3 separate regions of the Homo sapiens genome follow, and regions 1 and 3 are each linked to region 2. Evidence: promoter capture Hi-C in 16 types of primary human blood cells and fetal thymus (Javierre and others, 2016). All regions are on one chromosome and are shown on one strand. The core of a region is centred on a gene start or on the middle of the fragment in contact, and the rest is flanking DNA. Distances in the headings are between cores, read along the strand shown. Region 1 has its middle 89 kb from the start of TPRG1-AS1. Region 2 holds the start of RTP4 (receptor transporter protein 4). Region 3 has its middle 43 kb from the start of TPRG1.

Region 1 (4,824 bases), core at 1,493-3,992, 1.7 Mb after region 2:
ATCTGCATAAGCTGCATTTAAACAAAAGCTTACAGAAAGATTAAAAATAAAGACATAAAATGACATCAGACAAATATGATCAGATAGCAAATTAAGATAGCAATTTCAAAATTGGCTCATTAGAAATGGAGACAAGTTATCATTGTCAAAAATCATAGATTTAATATATTGGCAACATAAACAATATATCAATGTACCTTATGTTTTAAATACATAAAGCAAGAATGACAGAACTGTGGTGAAATAAAGGCAAATGAATAGCTGAGCTAGAGAGTCTTTAAAAATTGTTAGTTTAAACAGATAAAAAAGAAAAAGCAAGGACATAAAAGTTGTAAACAAGAACATTTAGAAGGAAATCTGGTGCTTTAAATACCTCTAAAAGAATAATAATTAAATACATTTTCCACTGAAGAAGCTAAGGTGAAAGCTCTTTACACCAATTACACAACACTGATGAAAGAAATCAGAGATGACACCAACAAATGGAAAAACATTCCATGCTCATTTATAAGAAGAATGAATATTGTTAAAAGAGCTATACTTCCCAAAGCAATTTACAGATTCAATGCTATTTCTATCAAATTACCAATGTCATTTTCCGCAGAATTAGAAAAAACTATTCTAAAATTTGTGTGGAACCAAAAAAGAGCCTGAATAGACAAAGCAATCCTAAGCAAAAAGGACAAAGCTGGAGGTATCAAACTAAAAAACTTCAAACTATATTACAAGGCTACGGTAACAAAACAGCATGGTACTAGTATAAAAACAGACACATAGACCAATGGAACAGGGTTGAGAACCCAGAAATAAAGCCACACACCTACAACCATATGATATTTGACAAAGTCAACAATAACAAGTAATAAGGAAAGGACTTCTTACTTAATTAATGGTACTGGGATAACTGGCTAGTCATATGCGGAAGATTGAAACTGAACCCCTACCTTTCACCATATACAAAAATTAACTCAAGATGGATTAAAGACTTAAATGTAAGACCTCAAACTATAAAAACCTAGAAGCAAACCTAGGAAATATCATTCTGTACATCACCTTGGAAAATAATTTATGACTAAGTCCCCAAAAACAATTGCAACAAAAACAAAAATTGACAAATGTGACCTGATTAAACTAAAGAGCTTCTTTCTGCACAGCAAAATAAACTGTCAATAAACAGGCATCATACAGAATGGGAGAAAATATTGGCAAACTATGCATCTGACATATGTGTACTATCTAGAATCTATAAGGAACTTAATCCAGCAAGCAAAAACCAAGTAACCCCATTAAAATGGGCAGAAGACATGAATAGACACTTCTCAAAAGAAGGCATACATGTGACCAACAAATATATTAAAAAGTACATCACTATTCATTAGAGTGAATCAAAAACTACAATGAGATACCAACTCATACTAGTCAGAATGGCCATTACTAAAATGTCAAAAAATAACAGATGTTGGGGAAGTTGCAGAGAAAAGGAAACACTTATACACTGTTAGTGGGAATGTAAATTAGTGCATCTAGCGTGGAAAGTAGTTTTGAGATTTCTCGAAGAACTTAAAACAGAACTACCATTCTACCCAGCAATCCCCTTACTGGGTCTATACCCAGAGGAAAATAAATTGTTCTACCAAAAAGACAAATGCACTTGTATGTTCATTGAAGCACTATTCACAATAGGAAAGACATGGAATCAATCTAGATGCCCATTACTAGTGGATTGGATAAAGAAAATATGGTCCATATACACCATGGAATATTATGCACCTATGAAAAAAAACAAAATCCTGTCCTTTGCAGCAACATGGATGGTCATTATCTTAAGTGAATTAATGAAGGAACAGAAAAACACATACTGCATGTTCTCATTTGTAAGTGGGAGCTAAACATTGAGTACACACAGACACAAAGATGGGAACAATAAACATGGGGACCACTAGAGAGGGGAGGGTAGAATGGGGCTAGGGTTGAGAAACTACTAGTGTAAAATTAGTACTGTTGGGTACTATGCTCACTACTTGGGTGACAGGATCATTTGTACACCAAATCTCAGTGTCATGCAATTTACACATGTAAGAAACCTGCACATGTACCCCATGAACCTAAAATAAAAATTACAAAACCCCACTAATGTGTGGAAAAAGTTAAGGGAATGGACACCCATGAAGTTGAGATAAGTTATAGGAGATAAGGAAGCTATAATTGTTTGCATATGTAAAAATATAAAAAGAGCAACAACATAATGCTATCCCAGACAAAGGAGGAATAATAAAATAATAAAGATAATATAAAATTCAAGAAATAAGAAATAATAACACCATATACGTGACAACAGACAAATAAGTTTGAATTCTTTGGAAAGATGAGTAACATATACAGGTATCTGGTAACACTGGTAACAAAAAGTTGAAAATTAGCAAAATATAGAATAAAAAAGGTGATGTAAATTTAGATGTAATGTACAGATGGATAATTATAGATGTAATGAAGATTATAAAGACAGTAAATACTATTAATGAGATCTATAAACCGATTAAATGAAACCAAATCATTTTTTAAAAATTCCAGAATCAGCAGAAGAAGAAATAAAAAATTTGAAAGGTCTAAAAATCATAAGATAAACTGACATAGTTATCAAAAAAGTCCCCATTCTTACTCCTACTCCTGCCCCACCAAAATCCGAGGCCCAAATGATTTATAAGTGACTTCTGAAAAAAAAAACGAAACAAATATTTAAAAAAAAAATCACCCTCCTTTCCTCATACAAGTTGTCCTAGATAATAGAATAATAGAAAAGGCCAAAGTGCCTTAATCATTCTTTGATACTCATGAAACAGTAATTATTTTTACTTGATAAAAATATTGTCTATAAAAAATTATAGAACAAATTTATTTATAAATTTGTGTGTAAAAATTCTACGAAAATCATTAGATCACACACTAAAATATTATTTGAGAAAAGAAAAAAACATGATGAACATGTATGATTTACCTCAGTAACATAAGGAGGATTTCATATCAGAAGCTCTATCAATGTAACAGTAGTAATTTACTAAGGAAACAAATCATATGTTTAGCTCAATATAAGTAGAAAAATTATTAAATAAAATGTAATTTCTGTTTATAATACAACTTTTCACAAAATCAGGCATAAATGAGAACCTTATTAACTAGTTAAAGGCTGTATATGAACAACTTTCAGTAAGTATTTTTTAAAGAAGAAACTTAAGGTATATTTAATATTAGACAAGAAAACATTATGTCGCCACTACTAGTTAACCTAGTACTAGTGGGACATAACCAAATATAATGAAACAAGAAATACAATGAGATATCACTGCTGGAAGATGAAAGAGCTTCAGATGATTTAATCATTTATGGAAACTAACAGTCTTCTCCAAGATTTTGTATACAACTAGTAAGAGTATTTCTGGATAAAATATATTAAACAACCAACAATATTTTCTACCAGTAGTAAATTAGTAAGATATATCCATCAAGTATAATATACCAGCAAAACTTTAAGATATAAATATATTAACCTATTAAGAAGTCTAAAGATTGTTTTGGAGAAACTACCATCTCTATCAAAAGGCATACAAGATCTGAATGAATACAGAGATAAACCATGTTCATGGATGGGGCAACTTAGTATTTTAAAGAGGTCAAATTTTGCCAAATTAAATAAAAAATGTATAGAATTCCAATCAAAACTTATACAGAGAAACTTAGGTCTAAAATATATTGTGAAAAACAAAAGTCCATAAGTAAATGATAATTTTGGAAGAGCAAAAAGGAATACCTTCCCTACCCTCTATTATTATATAACCATAAAAGAAAAAAAAATAGCCTGCCACATGATCAGACAAGTAAAACAATGGGATAAAGAACCATAAACCGTCCCTTATGGAATATGGTATAAAATTAAGGTGACTATTTTAATTTGCCTGTGAAAATTTTACTGCATTTATGCCTATTGGCCTAGCAAAATTAAAAATAATGTCCTCTTTTACTTTTCAGTTTGGAATATATTGTATGATGTCTTCATATATAATCAATTGATATAATAAATCAATGGAGGAAAGATAGGCTTTTTAAAAGCATATAGTATTGGCAAAACTGGCTTGTTAAATGGAGAAAAGTAAAATTTGATAAAATTTTGAATTAAACATTAGTATGTAAAATGTAAAGATAAACTGGTGAGAAAATAATGGAAAGTACCTTGGCAACTTCGGGGTGGGGAATGATTTCTGGAACAATACTCCCAAAATTAAAAGTATAATGGGAAAAAAATGAATGGATCTGATACATAATAATTATGAATTTCTGTTCATTGAAGGACACTGTAGATAAAGGTAACAGATGGGAGACAGACTGGGGGAAGATAATTACAACATTTAAAACTGACAAGGGATTAATACCTAGAATAATTAAGCAATTCCTGCAAATCAACAAAGAAAAGAGAGTAATTGGCAAAAAAAAAAAAAAAATGAATAGACAATTCACAGAAGGGCAAACCCAAATTACTTACATGCTCATGAAGACATCCCCAACATCATAAGTAATGAGAGAGCTATAAATTAAAACCATAATGAGACTCATTTTACACCCATCAGATTGGTAAAAATGAGAAAGTCAGATGGTATCATTGTTGGCACAGATGTGAAAAAATGAGAATCCTCATGCACTGCTGGTGGGAGTGGAAACTGGTGAGCCATTCTGGAGGGCAATCTGTTGGAAGTATATGTATATATATACCCCTTGACCCAGAAATTCCCGGAGGGAAACCTATGCAGGGTCACATGTGACATATACAAGGAT
Region 2 (4,584 bases), core at 2,073-4,572:
CCCTCCACCCTTGGGATCTCATGCTGGGTTGGGGTAGATAGTATTAGAACTGAATTGAATAAGAGGTCATCTAGTTGGTGTCCTCTGCAGAATTAAGTGACTGCTTGCTTGGTGAGGAAACTCCCCACATATTAGGTTAGAAGTCTTTTGTGTTGATTGCTACTGAGTGACAGAATAGAAAAAGCACTTTGAGTGTGTTTCTTCAACACATGTTACCCTTAATCTTCCTGCTGAACCCCCATGCAAAGGACCAGGCTGACCTGAACAATTGGGTATATCAAAGGGCACACATGAAGAAGAGGCAGAAGGAAATCATGAAGGCATGCAATGCGCCGGATCAAGCTACCTTTTGGGAAAAACAGAGCATTTGAGGTGTCAGGGGTAAGGGGACTCTCTGAAGGTACACTCTGAAGATACAGAATAAGTAGAGTGGACTTGGGATCCTAAACCCAGCGGAAAGTGAAGAGAAAGGGTAGAGAAATGATTTATGCATGGGTGGAGCAAGAGAGCAGAACTTGAAGCCAGGCCCTGTATTGGCACTAATTTGCTGTGTGACCTTAGGCAAGAGACCTTATTCCTCTGGGTCTCAGTTTTCTTTTCTCTTTTTTTTTTTTTTTTTTTTGAGACGGAGTTATGCTCTTGTCACTCAGGCTGGAGCGCAATGGCATGACCTCGGCTAACTGCAACCTCTGCCTCCTGGGTTCAGGCAATTCCCCTGCCCTGGCCTCCCAAGTAGCTGGGATTACAGGCATGCGCCATCATGCCTGGCTGACTTTGTAATTTTTAAAGTAGAGATGGGGTTTCATCATGTTGGTCAGGTGGTCTCAAACTCCTGACCTCAAGTGATCTACCCTCCTTGGCCTCCCGAAGTGCTGAGATCACAGGCGTGAGCCACGGTGCCCAGCCTCAGTTTTCTCGTGTATAAAAATTAAAGGGAAAAGGGATAAGTTGATTTCTAAGGGTTTTCCCAACTCTAACATCCTGTGGATCCAATTACAAGTTCTTAGAGCTTCCTATATCATGTGTATAGACACAGGTATCCAGGAAGGGAAGGAAAGAGAGAGGGTGTCTCTGAGTCGCTGACAGGGCACATGGAAGCCTAGAAAACCCAGGAAGACTGAGGCTGATCCTGTCTCAGACACAGAAGCTGTAGCGGGTGTTCTAAAGACCTAAGTAAGCATCCTGCTTGTCCTATCTCCCCTATTTGAATTTAAGCCCCAGGAGGACAAAGCTTACTCTCTGGAATCTCCGCGTTTTAGACTTACAAGTGTCTTTAAAGGTCATCTCATCTCAATCCCTTACCCCAAAATGGGAATTCTCTGTATCCTACCACTGAAAGACGGCCCCCACACCTGTGCGTATTTGCCCTTCCACATAATTTACAGAGTGGAGGGCAGAGTTTGATAATCCCTTCATGCAGCTGACCTCCTGCCTCAGGACCCAGGAAATCTCCCTACGGTTCCTCTGACACTGGCTCCAGTGTGCCAGCCTGGAACCTGAAATGCCATTCTCAGCTTCTCTTCAGGGAGTGAGGTGGGCGGACACATGGCAGGTTTTGGAGTCACACAGACCCGGGTTCAAGTCTCACTTCCACTGCTCGTTAACTGAGGGGATTTGGACAAAGTACCCCAGCTTTCTGTGCAGTTAACCTGCAAAACTCCAAGAATAATCCTTCGCGGGACTGGTGAGGATACATGGGGTGTAGGAGATGAGCATTAAACACGTGCTCCCCTACGCTGCTCCTAACCTCCCTGTCTCCACCTGGGTGTGAGCATCTGTGGGGGCAGGAATTGTTTCTTAGCTACAGGATACTCTTTTCCCAGTGCCAAAAACAGTGCTTTTGTGTCCGGAATTGGTGGGTTCTTGGTCTCACTGACTTCAAAAATGAAGCCACCGACCCTCATGGTGAGTGTTACAGCTCATAAAGGCACAGTGCCCAGAGTTTGTTCCTTCTGATGTTCGGATGTGTTCTGAGTTTCTTCCTTCTGGTGGGTTTATTGTCTTGCTGGCTCAAGAGTGAAGCTGCAGACCTTCCGGGTGAGTGTTAACAGCTGATAAAGGCAGAGCAGACCCAAACACTGCGCAGCAGCAAGATTCATTGCAAAAACCAAAAGAACAAATCTTCCACCACGTGGAAGGGGACCCGAGCCGGTTGTCAGTGCTGGCTGGGGCAGCCTGCTTTTATTCTCTTATCTGGCCCCACCCACATCCTGCAGATTGGTCCATTTTACAGAGAGCCAATTGGTCTGTTTTACAGAGAGCTGATTGGTCCGTTTTGACAGGGTGCTGATTGGTGCATCCACAAACCCTGAGCTAGACACAGGGTGCTGATTGGTGCATTTACAAACCTTGAGCTAGATACAGAGTGCCCATTGGTGTATTCACAATCCCTTAGCTAGACATAAAGGTTCTCCAAGTCCCCACTAGACTCAGGAGCCCAGCTGGCTTCACCCAGTGGATCCCGCCCCGGGGGCAGCAGGTGGAGCTGCCTGCCAGTCCTGCGTGTGTGCCCGCACTTCTCTGCCCTTGGGCGGTCGATGGGACCAGGCACCATGGAGCAGGGGGTGGCACTCGTCGGGGAGGCTTGGGCCATGCAGGAGCCCAGGGTGGGGAGACTCAGGCATGGCGGGCTGCAGGTCCCGAGCCCTGCCCCACAGAGAGGCAGCTAAGGCCCAGCGAGAAATCGAGCTCAGTGCCGGTGGGCCGGCACTGCTGGGGGACCTGGCGCACCCTCCGCAGCTGCTGGCCCAGGTGCTAAGCACTTCACTGCCCAGGGCTGGGGGCCTGCCGGCCGCTCCGAGTGCAGGGCCCGCCAAGCCCACGCCCACCCAGAACTCTAGCTGGCCTGCAAGCCCTGCATGCAGCCCCGGTTCCTGCCCGTGCCTCTCCCTCCACATCTCCCAGCAGGCTGAGGGAGCCGGTTCTGGCTTTGGCCTACCCAGGAAGGGGCTCCCACAGTGCAGTGGCTGGCTGAAGGGCTCCTCCAGCGCGGCCAGAGTGGGCACCGAGGCCGAGGAGGCTCCGAGAGCGAGCGAGGGCTGCGAGGGCTACCAGCATGCTGTCACCTCTCACTTTGCCTATTATAAAAAATGAGAGAGAGAAAATAAAAGCGAATTTATATGTGACCCCAGAATCTAGAACAGAGCTCTTTATCTCTCTCTCAGCAAGGCCTATTAACTAACACAGTTTTGCTGCTGTCTGTTTTCAGAACAAAGACTTGTTCTGTGTACTCAGACAGTCTAAAATGAAGGTTGAAAAAAACAGCTCATGTCCATACACAGAAACAGAAACTGAACCGAACACCGAAACTGAAACTGTTTGTCTCTTCCTGAGAAACGAGCAAACCTGAAAGCTACTCTCTCAGCTTCAGAGGGAAAAAATGGTTGTAGATTTCTGGACTTGGGAGCAGACATTTCAAGAACTAATCCAAGAGGCAAAACCCCGGGCCACATGGACGCTGAAGTTGGATGGCAACCTTCAGCTAGACTGCCTGGCTCAAGGGTGGAAGCAATACCAACAGAGAGCATTTGGCTGGTGAGTGTGGGTTTCCCAGGCAATAGCTCTTCTGAGAAGAGAGGCTCAGGCTCAGCTTAGCATGATTTATTCCTCTGAGAGCTTGTTGAAGGAGTAAATGTCACCAGGGCCTCCATCCTATTGTGGTCATAGTACTCTTTAGGGTCGACATGATAAGACGACTCCAAACCTCCATTTTGTTTAACTGCTGGAAGTTTCTTCTTTTACTAGGTTTCCCTCCGTAAATATTTCTGGAAAACCCTGGAGAAGGCTCCCTATTCCATAAATTTTCCCTTCTAGTTTCTCACCACGTCATTTGTTCCAGACTACCTCTAGAGTCTTTTGCAGTCTCCCCAGCAGTCCTGACCAGCTTCCCCCAGCTGCACCAGCTCTCCAAGCCTTGGCACTGTTCAGTACAAGCCTGGGACGGAGCCTTTTTTTTTTTTTTAAATATCTTAAGAATTGGCTAAGATCAAGCAGTTACTCTGAACATTGCTTTACTGAAGGCCTGGGGATAATAGTATAGAATGATGTTGCAAAAACTAAATCTAAAACCCAGTTCATGGAGTCACCAAGTAATACTCCTCCCTTACTCACCACTTCCCTCTTTAACCCCCAGCAAGCCTCCAGGTTGCAGGAACCAGTTTCCTTGACCATGTTAGGAGGGTGAGAATTGCTGACCTGGATAATCAAATTTATTTTTAAATGACACACAGGACCTTCGGTATAGTTTTCATCTGACCTATTACTCAGCTTGCCTGCCTGCCCCATCCTGCCTCAGGTATGGCCTACTCCATTCCTTATGGACTATTAGCTATGCCATGCATCTTCAGACTTCCACACTCTTGTTCATGGAGTTCTGCTTGTTCAGCAGACCCTCCCCTCACCCCTCCCTGCTCATCCTTCAAGGCCCACTCTAGTGCCTCCTCCTCCTAAAAGCATTCTCTGGTTCTCCTAGGCAGAGTAAGTATTCCTTCGTATACATTCCCATAAGATAATGGGATAAGATAAAATATATATGTATATGTATACATAAATGATATATAATTATATATACATATGTACTATGTA
Region 3 (5,026 bases), core at 1,373-3,872, 1.8 Mb after region 2:
TATGACCTTGTATAATTTGCTTAAGCTTGCTGAGCTTAGATCTACTCATTGTTCAAATGGAAATTGGACCTCCAAATTTATGAGGACATCAGAAGGATTAAATGATACAAGTGAAGTGTTTACCTTGGCACCTGGTGTTTGCTATGTATTCTATAAATTATTGCTAGTTGTATCTTATTTGATTCCTACCAAACCCTGTAGGGAAAGAAAGACAGCTCTTATTCACACGATTTCATTGTGAAATAATTGCTAACCAGAAGTACAGAAAGATGAGTGTGATGATGATCTAGGGTTTGAATCCAGTTTCTAGACTTAAATCCAGCAGGAATATCCTGTAAAACAACATATAAACTTAGAGCTTCTGACCTCTAAGCTGTCAGTAATTACAAATCTGCATCTTCCCTTTGAGACAGGATTATTTATGAGGATGGCCTGTGCAAAAAGACACCCAGAGATTTCATGCTGTTGATTCACAGAAAGCCTGTTCCTCTTCACTCCGTAGAGTCCTCAGAGTCTGGATCATCCCTTACAGAAGATCCTTGATAATATTTCTGATATACCTCCAAGGTGAGTAGAAGGAACTATGGGAGTGGCAACCAAAAAGGAAAATTATGATGCCTATAGGAATTTGATTTCAGTAGCCAGAATAGCATTGAGGCCACAAAACCATTACTTAGGTGTCTGCTCCATCAAAAACTGGGATCCTAAAAGGCAAGATGTCAGAACTAGAAGGATTTTAGAGATCATATAGGTGCTGACATATGTTAACAAATGGAAACTATTGACACAAGTTAAAATTGTATCTGCCACAGTGTATATTATAACCAATGTGCCAAGTTAGTGGTCAATGGGCCTCTCAACTTTCAATTTTGAAAGTCACGTTTGCTTTGGAGATACCGTAGGGCATCTTGACATGAACATGACACAACCTTTGTCCTTAAGACCAAAATAAGAGATATCAATACAATGTGAATAACATGTGGCTATACTCCCAGGTAAAGGTCTTAAGGTCTTTTTATAGCAATGTGGAGATTCAGAGAAAAACAAACCATACTTGATTTGGAGAATAAAGGAGGTAAACTCACAAAAGAGATGGCCTCTGGGTAGAACCTTGAGGTCCAGATGTTATGGAAGAGAAAGAAGTATGAAATCAATGGCCTTTGTGAGGTAGAGTCTAAGTTGTCTTCCCTCAGACTCAGTTTCTCACTAGGAAAGTGAAGTTAAGCATAATTCCCTATATGCTTAGCTGGTATATGTAAAAATGTTGTGTTCAAAGTCTTCCTCCTCTTCTCTTTCATTCTTTCCCCAAAACCTCACTACAGGTCCCAAGAGGTGGGCTCCTACTTTAGTCTACCAGGACCATCTTATAGGTTGTTGCTGATTTTGATCTTTCCTCACAGCTTAAAAAATCTGCACAGTATTTTTATCATTGGGCTTTTGTGGGGAGTGAGAAGTAAAAATAACTTAAAAATTTTAAAATAAATTTTGCACAATTGCAAGATGAGTCAGAAAGGGAAAATTCCTGTTTGTCGTGTACTCTTAATGAATTCGTTTTGCTAGAGTCTTGTGATAGATGAACCTTTGTGCAGCTCTCCTGGAGCATGGGCCGCCATGGCCCTTGCATGGAATCATTGTACCAGAGCTGTCAGTATTGTGCAAAGACGGCCTGGAGGAGGGAAGAAGACACCTTCAAGAAAGGGACAGAGTATTGGAAGTCAGGTCAAGGTAGGTTTATCAGATTTAGGAAATAAAAATACAGGGCATCTAAAGAAAAAAATTGTTTTAAGTATGTCTCAACCATAACATGAAACATATTTATACTAAAAAAGTTGTTTATCTGAAATTCAAATTTAACTGGAGTCCTATATTTTATCTGGCAACTGTAGTTGAATGAGATGAAAAGGTCAAAGAGTTAAGAAGTAATAAAGATATTTTTATAAGGGTTTATAATTTTCGAAGTGCCCTCATGTTCCTTATCTCATTTTGACCTCATATCAACAAAATGTTGGTACTATTTCTCTAATTTTAGTGATAATGAAAGATTAGGCTGAGAGAGCTTAGGTAACTTACCTAAGGACATGCCACTGGTAGGTGTCAGTGTTGGCTCTTCAACTCAGTTATTTTATTATTAGCATTATTTTTTGAGACAGAGTTTCGCTCTTGTTGTCCAGGCTGGAGTGCAAGGGCGCAATCTCGGCTCACTGCAACTTCCACCTCCCGGGTTCAAGCGATTCTTCTGCCTCAGCCTCCTGAGTAGCTGGGATTACAGGCGTGAGCTGCCGCACCCGGCCCAACTCAGTTATCTTTTAAACTTCTTATTTTGAGATAATTTTAGACTCAGGAAAAACAAAAACAAAAACAACAGCAGCAGCAACTTCTCCTAATGTTAACATCTTATCTACCCGTGGAACAATGATTAAAAACTAAGAAATTAACTTTAGTACTATTCACTAAAGTATGGACTTTATACATATTTCATCAATTTTTTCACAAATGTCCTTTCTTATTCCTAGGCTCCAATTCAGAGTCCCACGTTGCCTTAGTTGTCAGGTCTCCTGCCATCTGTGACAGTTTCTCACAGTTTTTCCTTTTCTTTCATGATTGTGACACTTTTGAAGAGTACTGATGAGTTATTTTGTAGAATGTCCTTCAATTTTGGTTTTTCTGATCTTTTCTTGGGACTATACTGAAGGTATTGCAAAAGATACCACAGCAGGGATGCGTCCTTCTCAGGCTGTGATACCAGGTATATTATGTTGATATATATTATTGGTGACATTAACCCTGATCACTTGGTTAAGATGGCATCTGCTGGATTTTTCCACTGTAAATTTGCTGTTTCCCCCTTTGTTATTACTAAATATTTTGAGAAGTGACACTTGAGACTATAAAAATATGCTGTTTATACTTAAACTTTCCCTCATTAACTAATTTTAGCCTCTTGTGGTGGATCTTGCTTGTTGCCATTGTTATTATGATGTTGTAATGGTCATTTTCTATTTTCCTCATTTTCTCTATATTTATTAACTGAAACTCTCTGTTGGAAAGAGTTGTCGCTTCACTCCTTATTTAAGCTCAGTTATTTTAAGTCCAAGACTATTGCTTTTTTCACTAAAGCACAGATGAAGAAAAAAGTATAGGATTTTGAGCTATGGTAAAGTTATGATTGTTTCATGTGCACAGTGGAAGGAGTATGAAAATAATTTTACTTATTTTACTAACATTGATCAAACATTTACTTCTATACAGGGCCTTGTGTTAGGCATTGTGAAGGAAAGAGAAATGCACAAAAAATCTCATGGAGGCTGATAAATCAAAGATAATACTTAAGGTACTCTTCATAAGAGGGATAATAAAACTTCTCAGCTGAATGTTGAACTGATAAATGATTATGTTGATGACTATGGCAATGATAAGTGAATTGTAATGCAGTTATCAAGCACTCATGGCAAGCTCAGCTCTGAGTAATATAGAATATCCTCAACCAGATGATCATGATGTATGTACAGATCTTGGCACATACATCATGTGCCATGGGTTCTAGGCACATGCATAGTACCGAGTATGTTGGGTTATAAGCACCATGAGATCTTTCTCATAATTTATAGAAAGAAGAACTCAACTAGACAATAACTATTTTGACTGTCTTTAGGATCCATGATTCCTTTCTGCCTGGGAGAGATTATGAGGCTTCAGAGAATTCAAACATTGCTCCTCATTAAGGAAATGGTGAATTAACTTACATGTAGTACCTGAAAAAATTAAACTTCTATTCTCAGTGCTTTCTTAACTGGCCTAAAATGGACCTTACAGGTATAATCTCAGTAACTCAAATGTTATCAGAGGAAAATGGCCTGGCATGGTCAAAACGTAGCAGATTATTTTAACCAGTAGTTAATAAAACTGAACAACAGCATGAAAGAGAACACCAATAGTCCCTTGACATGGACTGTAATAGGATGAAACTAGAGGCAAATGTAGATTCCCTTCTGTGAGTGTGAGGGCTCTACTATCAAGCAACCATTTATATATTCTGGCAGAATATGAACTGCTTAGGACACACTCATAATGTGATGTGAAGAGTACCAATGTCTGTTAAAAAAATCCATTTGAAAGTACTATTTAAAAAATCCAACAGTAGAGCTATATATTCCAGCTATAACAGGCTTTCATTTACATTCTTCCTCAAATGCAGGTCATAACCTGAGTTTGAGATGCAGGGAATGACCTGCGTTTTAGAGAAGAGGAAAGTGAGGTTCAGGGCCATATGTGATTTTTGCTAACAATGGTGGATCTTGAGCTAGGATCCAAAACTTCTGATTATGAGATGTGTACTTTTTACCTCATGCCATGTTACCTCTGGCCGGTAAAATACCTAAAATTCTGCACAACTCTAAGTAACGTGATCGTATGTCCCACTTTGCCCAGAACAGTTCAGATTTATCCTTTTTGGCAGCATAATTAGTAATAATCTTACCTTTTACTCTAAAAAATGTTTTAAATCGGAGCAGCGATTATGTAGTAATTTCACTGATGGGAGGGCTCAGGGAGATTCCAACTTGGGCTTCAGTGTTTAAATTGGTGCTAAAGAAATCCCTAATGAGTTACTTCTATACATTACAAAAAGGCAATATCATTTAAGATATTATGTAAATATGATACATTCTAATGTTGGAATTATATATAAATATTCATGTGTGTATATGTATACGTGTATATACGTGTATCTATATGTGTGTTTATATATATATAGTTGTCTAGAAAAAAGCTCACTAAAAGGCAAAATTACAATAATTTGAGAATATAAAATCTCCATCTTGAAGGAAACAAGACCATGTAGATAGCAGTTGATAACATAATAATAATTCTTCTCACAAATGCAGTAGGACTTTATATTACTGAGCACTTTCTGATCATATTTTCTCATTTCAACTTTCTAAGAATGCTCAGTCAATAAACGAATCCCCCATTTTGCAGGTGAAGCCAAAATGCAGATACACAGTGAATGAGGCAGATCTGGGACCTC

What was found. Contacts are between HindIII fragments. The CHiCAGO score rates a contact against its expected background, and 5 or more counts as called.
Region 1: a contact is called between a fragment that was not itself captured here and the fragment with the promoter of RTP4 in region 2, in 1 of 17 cell types (activated CD4 T cells). The highest score is 6.3, in activated CD4 T cells.
Region 3: a contact is called between a fragment that was not itself captured here and the fragment with the promoter of RTP4 in region 2, in 2 of 17 cell types (naive CD8 T cells and naive B cells). The highest score is 7.1, in naive CD8 T cells.

Annotation. Positions count from the first base shown.
Region 1 is chr3:189,034,318-189,039,141 of GRCh38, forward strand. It overlaps a transcript of TPRG1 not described here. Among named protein-coding and RNA genes, the nearest start is that of TPRG1-AS1, 89 kb to the left of the region's middle. The HindIII fragment of the contact is 5,433 bases long and covers 27-4,824 here.
Region 2 is chr3:187,365,063-187,369,646 of GRCh38, forward strand. It overlaps RTP4 (receptor transporter protein 4), which reads left to right and starts at 3,323. Exons shown (of 2, transcript NM_022147.3): 1 at 3,323-3,534. The coding sequence starts at 3,380. RefSeq lists an enhancer at 3,184-3,533. The HindIII fragment of the contact is 4,178 bases long and covers 1,230-4,584 here.
Region 3 is chr3:189,126,644-189,131,669 of GRCh38, forward strand. It overlaps a transcript of TPRG1 not described here. Among named protein-coding and RNA genes, the nearest start is that of TPRG1, 43 kb to the right of the region's middle. RefSeq lists an enhancer at 1,372-2,571. The HindIII fragment of the contact is 5,198 bases long and covers 24-5,026 here.